Regions from separate parts of the Homo sapiens genome. Here region 1 is linked to region 2. The links are contacts of gene promoters, found by promoter capture Hi-C in blood cells and fetal thymus (Javierre and others, 2016). All regions are on one chromosome and are shown on one strand. The core of a region is centred on a gene start or on the middle of the fragment in contact, and the rest is flanking DNA. Distances in the headings are between cores, read along the strand shown. Region 1 has its middle 24 kb from the start of TXNRD3. Region 2 holds the start of MCM2 (minichromosome maintenance complex component 2).

Region 1 (4,456 bases), core at 1,895-4,394, 920 kb after region 2:
CCCAGGCTTGATATCTTTGCGGCTTAGAATTTCAGTCCTGTGTGTGACATAAACATCTTGTCTGCCAGACCTAAGAAATTCATCCACACTCCCTGGCTGCTGAATTTTCTTTCCTGAGCCTATAGATGTTCTTCGTCATAAGTTGACAAAAGAGGTGCTCTGAGCCTGTGTGATAGGTTTTCCAGGCTTGCTGCCCGTTACTGTCATCTGCCAATTCATGAAGCAGTTGTATGCACCTATCCTGTGGGCGAATTTTATTTAGCCACTAATTATTGTATTCATTAAAAAGGAAGGAAGACAGGCAGGAAGAAGCACACTCAGATCTCCTCTCGGAAAATTCTCAGCTGCTCCACACATCACGTTTGAAGGATGAGAAGCACAAATAATGCTGTGAGATAAATAAATGTATAATTGAAACCACATGAAGTGGAATAATCAAGTTACTCAGCTCCCAGTGACTCCTAGTTTCTGATCTGTCTCCAGATATCAGAACTTGCAGAAACCGGTTGCACCTCCAATAACTACTACTCTGCAGCTTTTACCAGCAGACAATACCTTTGCCGTGGAGGAATAAAATGCATTCTTATAGGTTACGTGGTTTCTGCAAGTGAATAGTAACCAAATCTGAGAGGCCAATGTGCCGGCCCCAGTTTTATGGGACCTTGATGGAGTTCCTGGGAGGAGAAGGAAAGAAGCTGTGGGCTGCCGAGGGCCCCATGCTGCCCCTGCTTCCCTCCTGCAGGCATCCTTCTCACCTTCCTGCCCTCTCTCACTCCATCCCATCTCCCTCCAGTGCCTCTCCCCACTTCCAGTTCTGCATCCCTCCTGCCCACTCACTAACATGAGGGCTCCCCCAGGTCACAGCTTCCCTGGGCCTTAGTTTCTGTAAAATAGGGATAATTAAGGTAGAGAATCTACAGAGAATCAGAGGCAGATGTGAGGCTTCAATGAGTTCCAGCTGCAAAGCGCTTAGCTTTGTTAGTTTCTATGGTTCCCTTTTAGGAGGATGCCTTCGGAGCCTCTCACACTTCCGAAGCCTCACCCTGCCTTCGGCCCATGGTGAGTTTTAGTCGTGCCCCCAGGACATTCCTTAAGAGCAGCGTTGGGTTCTCCTGTCCCTCTTCATCCCTGCATCCACAGCAGGCATTTCTGCCCGGCTTTATAGTTCATAGAGTGTGTTCTTATTCATTGCCTTGTAATCTGTGTCATCCTCCTTATTTTAAGAGGAAATCAAGACCTGGAGGTGGAGGCACCGAGCTGGAACACAGCTCCCCTGGGAACCACTCTGGGCAGGACTGGCCGGCCCTGGAGGTGCTGGGTCCCTGTGGGTGGCCGACTGACAGTGCCTGGGAGGCACGTGCCCCGTCCCCGTCGCCTGCGCGGGTCAGTGGGCAGCCCAGGCCAGATCCTCTGAAAGGAGACCTCGCATTGTCTGTTTCCCAAGAAGCCGCAGTGCCACCTCGCGGCCGCCTTCAGAAGTGCATGCTGCGATCTGGCGCTCTGAGAAGCCCTGTGGGGAGGTACCTGCGTCCAGCCCAAGGGGCTGCCTGCCTGGCCCGCGAGGAAGAGCGCGTTCCTGCCGGGCCCACGCAGCTGAAAGTGGAAATGGGTTCTGTAGAATGTTTCGGCGTGCACCGAATTCGCGCAAGAATCCTCTACTGATGCCAGGCCCTGTGCCCAGGGATGGGGTGGGGGCGGTGCAGAGAAAGGACCGTGGGGTGGTGCAGAGAAAGGACCGTGGGGTCGTAGAGAGGAGTGCCAGAGGCCTTAGCTCTAAGGGGTGCGGGAATCGGAGAGGCAGAGGCCAACCAGAGGACCTCTTCGTGAGGCCAGCTGTCATGAGTGCTAGGATCCGAGCAAAGGGCCGAGTCCAGCTGCGCACACAGAGGGGCCCATCTCCTGCCACATGGTTTCCTTTCGTCCTCCCGCTTGCTCCGATTAACAGGCATCCTGCATCTTGGGCGTACAAGCTTCCCGGCCGCGCAAGTTGTTCAAGAACCCCAGAGGCAGGTGTTTCCGGGAGGCTCTAAGCCGACAGCTCTTTGAATGCCTGGCTGCTCACAGGGCCTGAGCCTCTGCCACACCCTGTTTAAGAACCCGAGGCTGCACGGCTGCTCAGGCCACCCCCAGCCAGACTCTGTCCTTCTCTTGCAGAGAGGTACACTCTGGGGCCTGGCCACCCTTCCCGCCGGGGGCCTCTCTGAGAGCCTCTGGCTCCAATAAAAGAAGGGAACAGAGTCCCAAATCCCTTTTTTCTGGCAGGCTCTTGGCCGTTGGGTGAATTTGCCACCCCCTTCTCCCTGACGTTGTGTATTAAGGATTCTTTGGAAGGGCAGACATTTCCAAGTCAGAGAAAGCGAGGGTCAATCTGCACCCTTTCTCAAAAAAAGCAGTGACGGCCTGCCTTGCATTTATACAATTTAAGGAGATTCCAGAGATAATAAGGCGAGTCTGTTCCAAGGTGACTTAAGGTCTCCATTTGCAGCCAAGGGAGCAGCTGGCATAATTCTAAGTTTCCGCCTGAGCAGGCACTTCCATTACCCTCAGAACCTCCATGCTTGGTTTCTGGAAAGATCAACTTCAGCAAAGAAGCGGGCGCGGGTGGGGAGCTAGCTCTTCCTTCCCTTGACAGCCTCAGTTGGAGACCTCGGCTGCCACCACGTGCCACAGTGGGAGAGTTTCCCGTCCAATGCTCTGCTCCAGCGATGTACTGGATTCCAGCCTGGGACCACCCAGAGACTTCGTTATATGTGGAATATAGGGAAATGAACACGGCAATGTCTGCACCACACAGAAGGTCTAGATTTCTCATCTGGAAAATGGTCCATTTCTGCCCGGGTCACAGAGGAAAAAAAGATCTGGCTGGGTGCAGTGGCTCATGCTTATAATCCTAGTGCTTTGGGAGGCTGAGACAGAAGGATGGCTTAAGGCCAGGGGTTCTAGACCAGTCTAGGCAACATAGTGAGACCCTGTCTCTACAAAAAAAGAATCAGACAGTTGCAGTAGCATGTACCTGTAGTTCTAGCTACTTGGAAGGCTGAGGTGGGAAGATTGCTTGAGCCCAGGAGTTTGAGGCACCAACGAGCTGTGATTGCATCACTGCACTCCAGGCTGGACAACAGAGTGAGACTCTGTCTTGAACAAAAATAAAGGAAAGAAAAGAAAAGAGATCCCACGTGGTAAGAGAAGTAACTTTTTGCTACCTTTAAAAAATCCTTATTTTCCGTCCCCATGGTAGGTTGTTTACAACAGTGGCCATGGTTTTGCAGCCCTCCTTGCATATGTGTCCTCAGCCCGGTGACTGTGCAGTAACTCCTGAGAAGATGCAGAGTGCATTTCTCAGCCCTTGGATCTGAGCTGGCCTGTGACTCACTTTGGTGCACAGAATGTGGCAGAAGTAAGGGGATTCAGGTTCTGAGGCTAGGCTGTAACAGCCATTGCATGCTTCCTCTTCCTTTCAGATCTCTGGGCTAGCCTGCTAGCCACTCAGAAAGATACCACTCAGCAGCAGCGGAGCCATCCCAGATGCTGATGTGTAGCTGATACCCAAGTGAGCCCTGCTGAGTCCGGCTCAGATGATCAGAAGCATCCTGCCAGCCCACAGACTCATGAGCAGTACTACACGGTTGTTATTTGAACCTACTGAGCCTTGGGGTGTTTTGTCACACAGCAACAGCTAACTGGTACCCCTGCTCACCTCCTTTCTTCTGCTTCTTCCTTCATTCTTCTGTTCCTGGACCTGATCAAGGTCATCCATCTGGGTAGTTACATGTCTGTGGGTTATTTCTCCACCATCTGCCCTTGGGGGCTGGGTGTTGGGAAGGCAGCCTGCTGGAAAGTCACCCTTGCAGACCCTGGAAATAAGCTGAGGATAGGCTCTGCTGGGCAAACTCCCCCCACCAAGGAGGAGAGGCTGCTCTATAGTCTCTGGTTTGTTCCTGGACAATTCGCTCCTTCTCTTTGGATCAGTCACTCTCTAACTGCTATTTGGCTGTCACCCAAGGACTGCTACTCCTTATCCTTCTGGGATGGACTCACTTTCTTCTTGGAGCCCTTCCTCAAGGTGCATCCCCTTTTTGGTGGAGAGAAACCCCAAATAATTTCTCAAAATGTGTGCAAGGTCAACCTTGAGTCCTTTCAGATCTGAAAAGATCTATTTGCCTTTAAACATTGGCTTGTCCTAGATGTATAGGTTCAAAATTCCTTTCCCCCAGAAATTTGGAGACAGTCCTCACTTTCTTCTGGCAGCCTGAGTACCTGATGAGGCAGCTGATGCCAAAATGTCCCTTCCCTGCATCCACCTATTTTGGAAGCTTGTAGGATATTTCCACTATTCTTGATATTCTGGAATTTTGTGCTGATGTCCCATGGGCCTTTTTTTATTCATTATGCTGGGCATTTGAGTTCCCTTCAAACTGAAGACCCAGGTGCTTCAGTTCTGGGAAATTGTCTTCTA
Region 2 (4,610 bases), core at 1-2,500:
AGGCAAGAATGCCATCGATTCATCTGCTCCCAGCTCCCAAAGCCAGGCCACCAGGCACACAATGGGCTCTCTGCAAAACTATCTGCTGAGTCCAGGGCCTTGAATGAAATTACCTTTCCATGCCATCTCCAATGAGCTCCTCTCCATCCTCTTCTTCCTCCAGGGGCCCCTCTGTGCCTAGGAGCCCCTCGGACTCATCCTCAAATGGTGGAAGGTCACGGCCAGGGCTGGAGGTGAGGGCATCAGTACGCCGGGAGCTTCGGCCAGGGCTGGAGGTGAGAGGATCATTGCCTCGCCGACGCTGGGCCGGGCTGGATGCCATGGTGAAGGATTCCGATGATTCCTGCAAGAGAAGGTGCGGTTGTCAGAAACCTAGGAAGCTGGTGAGGCATGATACAGCTTCCTTTTTACCATCAGGGGCCTTCCCTTCTTTCTCTCCACCTGTGACTCTTGTCCTCCAACACACCAAACCCCTTCCAGCCTCCAGATCTTTGCCCTTGCTGTTCTCTCACCTGGAATGCTCTCAGCTGAGCAATCTGAGTCAGTGGCTTCCAAACAAATAGAAGCCAGCTCAAATATCGGGGTCACCCACATCACCGTGCTTTCTCCATGAAAAACCACTGAGGTTATGTCATTTGCCTATTTACCTGTTTACTGTCTATTATCTCCCCTTAAGCATTAGACCTATTTCAGCACACACAGTGCGCAAGGTATTGTGATAGAGATGGCATAGAAGAGCCACCAAAACAAGAGGTCTGGAACTCAGATGTGGAACAGACAGTATACAAGACAAAGGGACAAGAAGGTAATACAAAAGTAAGTGTAGTGTTTGGAACAAGGATCATTGGGAAATTAAAAAAAAAAAAAGTTTAAAGGAGTGTAGTGAAATGGGGGCCTGTCTTTTGTACGCTCAGCGCCACACAGATGGCGCCCAATAAGTATGTGTGGGGTGAATAAAGGACAGAGGCTGAACGGGCCGAGCTCGCCTTAGGGAGCCCAGGGCCCCAGGTCAGTGGTAGGTAGGCGAGTCGCCTCACGCAGGGTGCAGGCGAGAAAGTAGCTGCGCCCCAGAGCCTGGGGCCCAGCCTCACCCAGAGCGCCGCCCTGGGCCGGGGCCAGAGTACGGGAAGCGCGCAGCCTCCGCACCCATGTCCCCGGCGCCCGCCCGCCACGCGCCAGCGCGCTCACCGCCATAGCAGTACCACGATCCTCTCCGCCACTACAGCAACAACCAGGTTTCGCGCGAAAAGTGGTTCACGTGACCCACCAAAGCCCGGGAAGAGCCCTACGGAACGCGACGTCATGACGTCGGCGTCCACTGGCGACCAGAAGGGACACGGAGGGGCGGGCCAGAGGGTCCGGTCCCGCCTACAACGCCCGAGGCGCTCCGCCCAGAGCCCGGAGGTGTGCGGCCCGGCGCTGTGCGCGTGCGCTCGCCTGCGCTGTGGTGGGAGCTGGAGCGGAGGTAGAAGCTGAGGCTCCAGGGGACCCGACGACACTTGCTGGCTGCGTGACCTCGGTCACACCAGGGCCATTTTGCTGACAAGACAACAGAGGCCGGGCGCGGTGGCTCACGCCTGTAATCCCAGCACTTTGGGAAGCCGAGGTGGGCGGATCACAAGCTCAGGAGTTCGAGACCAGCCTGACTAACATGGTGAAACCCAGTCTTTACTAAAAATACAAAAATTAGTTGGGCATGGTGGCACGGGCCTGTAATCCCAGCTACTCGGGAGGCTGAGGCAGAAGAATCGCTTGAACCTGGGAGGTGGAGGTTGCGGTGAGCCGAGATCCCGCCACTGCACTCCAGCCTGGGTGACAGAGTGAGACTCCGTCTCAAAAAAAAAAAAAGACAGCAGAGGTTCAGAGCCTGGTTTTCTGACGCTTCTTACCGTCTTAGGAGCACAATGGTTTAACTTCTCCCAAAGCTCAAAGGCTCAATACTTCAAGCAGCTGGACAACTCTGGGATTTTGTAGGAGGTCACATCTGAGGCTTTAGTAGGAGTTATCTTTGCCCAGGGGAGCGAAGACGCAGGGAGGATGTTACAGATAGAAGGATGCCATGTGCAAAGCTGCAGAGGTCATGGCAGGGCCCGGATGTGCAAGCCCCTCCCTAAGAACTAACCCTAGGAGCTTATGATGCCGGGCAACAGACAAGACTTGAGGGAGAGAAAATCCGGATCAAAAAAGAGCTAGATGTTTTTCTAGAGAGTTTGACTATTCTGTATTCTGAAAGCAATGGAAGGCCATGGAAGCATTTTGAGCAGGGTGAGACGTGAACTAGTGTGGGTTTTAGAATCCCTCTGGCTGCTACCAGGTGGAAGTGGATTGAACGAGGTTGAAGGCAGCAAACGAGGAGGTTGCTGTGGTTCTTGTCTAGTTCCAGGCAGCCTTAGTGAGCAGAGGCAGGGCTGAATCGCAACCCTCTTAGCCAGGCACTTTGTGCAGTGAACAAGCATCTCTGCCTGGGACCCAGGGTAGGGAGGCAGGAGTGATGGAGAGAACTGGAAATACAAGATGTTTAGGAGGTGGAATCTTTTTTTTTTTTTTGAGACAGAGTCACTCTGTCACCCAGGCTGGAGTGCAGTGGTGCAACCTCAGCTCACTGCAACCTCCACCTCCCAAGTTCAAGCGATTCTCGTGCCTTAGCCTCCCGAGTAGCTGGGATTAGAGATGCACGCCATTGTGCCCGGTTAATTTTTGTATTTTTAGTAGAGATGGGATTTCACCATTGTTAGCTAGGCTGGTCTCCAACTCCTGACAAGTGGATCCGCCTGCCTTGGCCTCCCATAGTGCTAGGATTACAGGCGTGAGCCACCACGCCCGGCCAGGAAGTGGGGTCTATAGGTGTTGGTGATTGAGGACAGCAAAAGAGGCATGCAGGATGACACCAGGATCCTGGCTTAGCTAGGTGGATGATAGCTGAGATAGGAGCGCACAGGAAGACCAGCAATTTAAGGGGGAAGAAGATGAGTTTGTTTCTGGCTGTGCTGAATTTGGGCCGAGGGGACATATCCAGGAAGCTGTTGGATATCCATGTATGGGACTCAAGGGCGTGTTTGGACTGAAGCTGTAGATTGCCTTGGGAGTGGTTGTATAATCCAGAGTGAGTGCAGGGAGATGAGAAGGTCTAAGCCTGGGACCTGGGAAACCCCAACAGTTAAGAGACACCAACAAAGGATGTGAAGGATGCACCTCGGATGCTAGGAGCTGCTGACAGGAAAGCTGAAGAGACTCTGCATGGGCTTGTGTTATCTATTGCTGCATAAAAAATTATCCTGGGATGGCCAGGCATGGTGGCTCACACCTGTAATCCCAGCACTTTGGGAGGCTGAGGCAGGTGGATCACCTGAGGTCAGGAGTTCAAGACCAGCCTGACCAACATGGAGAAACCCTGTCTCTATTAAAAATCCAAAATTAGCCAGGCGTAGTGGCGCATGCCTGTAATCCCAACTACTCAGGAGGCTGAGGCAGGAGAATCACTTGAACACTGGAGGTGGAGGTTGCGGTGAGCCGAAATTGTGCCATTGCACTCCAGCCTGGGCAAAAAGAGCGAAACTCTATCTCAAAAAAAAAAAAATTATCCTGGGATTTAGCACCTTGAAGCAATTAGCACCCACTGTCTCGGTGTCTGTGGATCAGGGATCTGGACACGATGCCACTGGGTGCCTCTTCTTCAAGGTCTTTCAAGGCTGCAGGCAAGGTATTGGCCAGGGCTGCTGTCTCCTCTGAAGGCTCATCTTCAGGAGGATCCCCTTCCAAGCTTCTTCACATGATAGGATTCAGGTCCTCATAGGCTGTTGGACTGAAGACTTAGTTTCCCACTGGCTCTTGGGTGGGGGCCTCTCTACAGAGCAGCTTACAACCTGGCAGCTGGTTTCTTTCAGAGCAAGCGAACAAGAGAGAGAGGCCATACAAGACAGATGCCATGTCTTGGAAGTGATATTCCTTTACTTTTGCCATATTCTCTTAGCGAGAAGTGAGTCCTGAGGTCCGGCCCACACTGAAGGAGAGGAGATCCTAGCAGGGCTGGGGATTATCAGGAGCCCTCCCAAAGGCCACTGAAGAGAGCAGTCAAGATGGTGGATGGGGTCAGCTGGCTGCCCAGAGGTCATCTGATAAGGACTAGGAGCTGTTAGTGGCCCTGGCGATAGCAGATCTGGGCTGGCCGGTGTGTCTGGAGTCAGACACTACATTGAAGTGTGTTGACAGGTAGGATGCAGGGAAGTGAGAAGGGTGAATGTGAGTTACTAGTTGGAGGCTGGAGTGCTTTTATGTCACCCAAAGATGTATGGGTCAGAGAGGCATTCCCAGGTGTGGAATGGACTGTGAGAGCTGGGACAGGCACTGGAGTGGGATATGGCTTTTTCTCAGATGAGAGGTTCTTGGACATGTTTAAACACTGGTTGGGGGCAGGGTAGGAGAGACAGAAAGGTGGGTGGGGTGAGTAGGCAGCCTCTATTATGGCCCTGATGGCCCTTGCCTTCTGGTATTCACACCCTTGTGTGATCTCCTCCCAACAGCATAGGACAGATGTGGTTGGATGTTACTTTGGAGATTCAGTTACAAAAAGACTGCAGCTTTGCTCACTCTGAGAGAAGGCAGCATCCATG

The links. Contacts are between HindIII fragments. The CHiCAGO score rates a contact against its expected background, and 5 or more counts as called.
Region 1: a fragment that was not itself captured here is called in contact with the fragment with the promoter of MCM2 in region 2 in 1 of 17 cell types (total CD4 T cells); the score reaches 5.2 in total CD4 T cells.

What each region holds. Positions count from the first base shown.
Region 1 is chr3:126,676,423-126,680,878 of GRCh38, reverse strand. No RefSeq gene overlaps it. Among named protein-coding and RNA genes, the nearest start is that of TXNRD3, 24 kb to the right of the region's middle. RefSeq lists enhancers at 1,783-1,882, 1,398-2,004. The HindIII fragment of the contact is 2,343 bases long and covers 1,973-4,315 here.
Region 2 is chr3:127,595,051-127,599,660 of GRCh38, reverse strand. It overlaps MCM2 (minichromosome maintenance complex component 2), which reads right to left and starts at 1,250. Exons shown (of 16, transcript NM_004526.4): 1 at 1,189-1,250; 2 at 114-343. The coding sequence starts at 1,194. It also overlaps a transcript of TPRA1 not described here. RefSeq lists a silencer at 952-1,111 and enhancers at 1,142-1,261, 615-1,572. The HindIII fragment of the contact is 9,465 bases long and covers 1-3,762 here.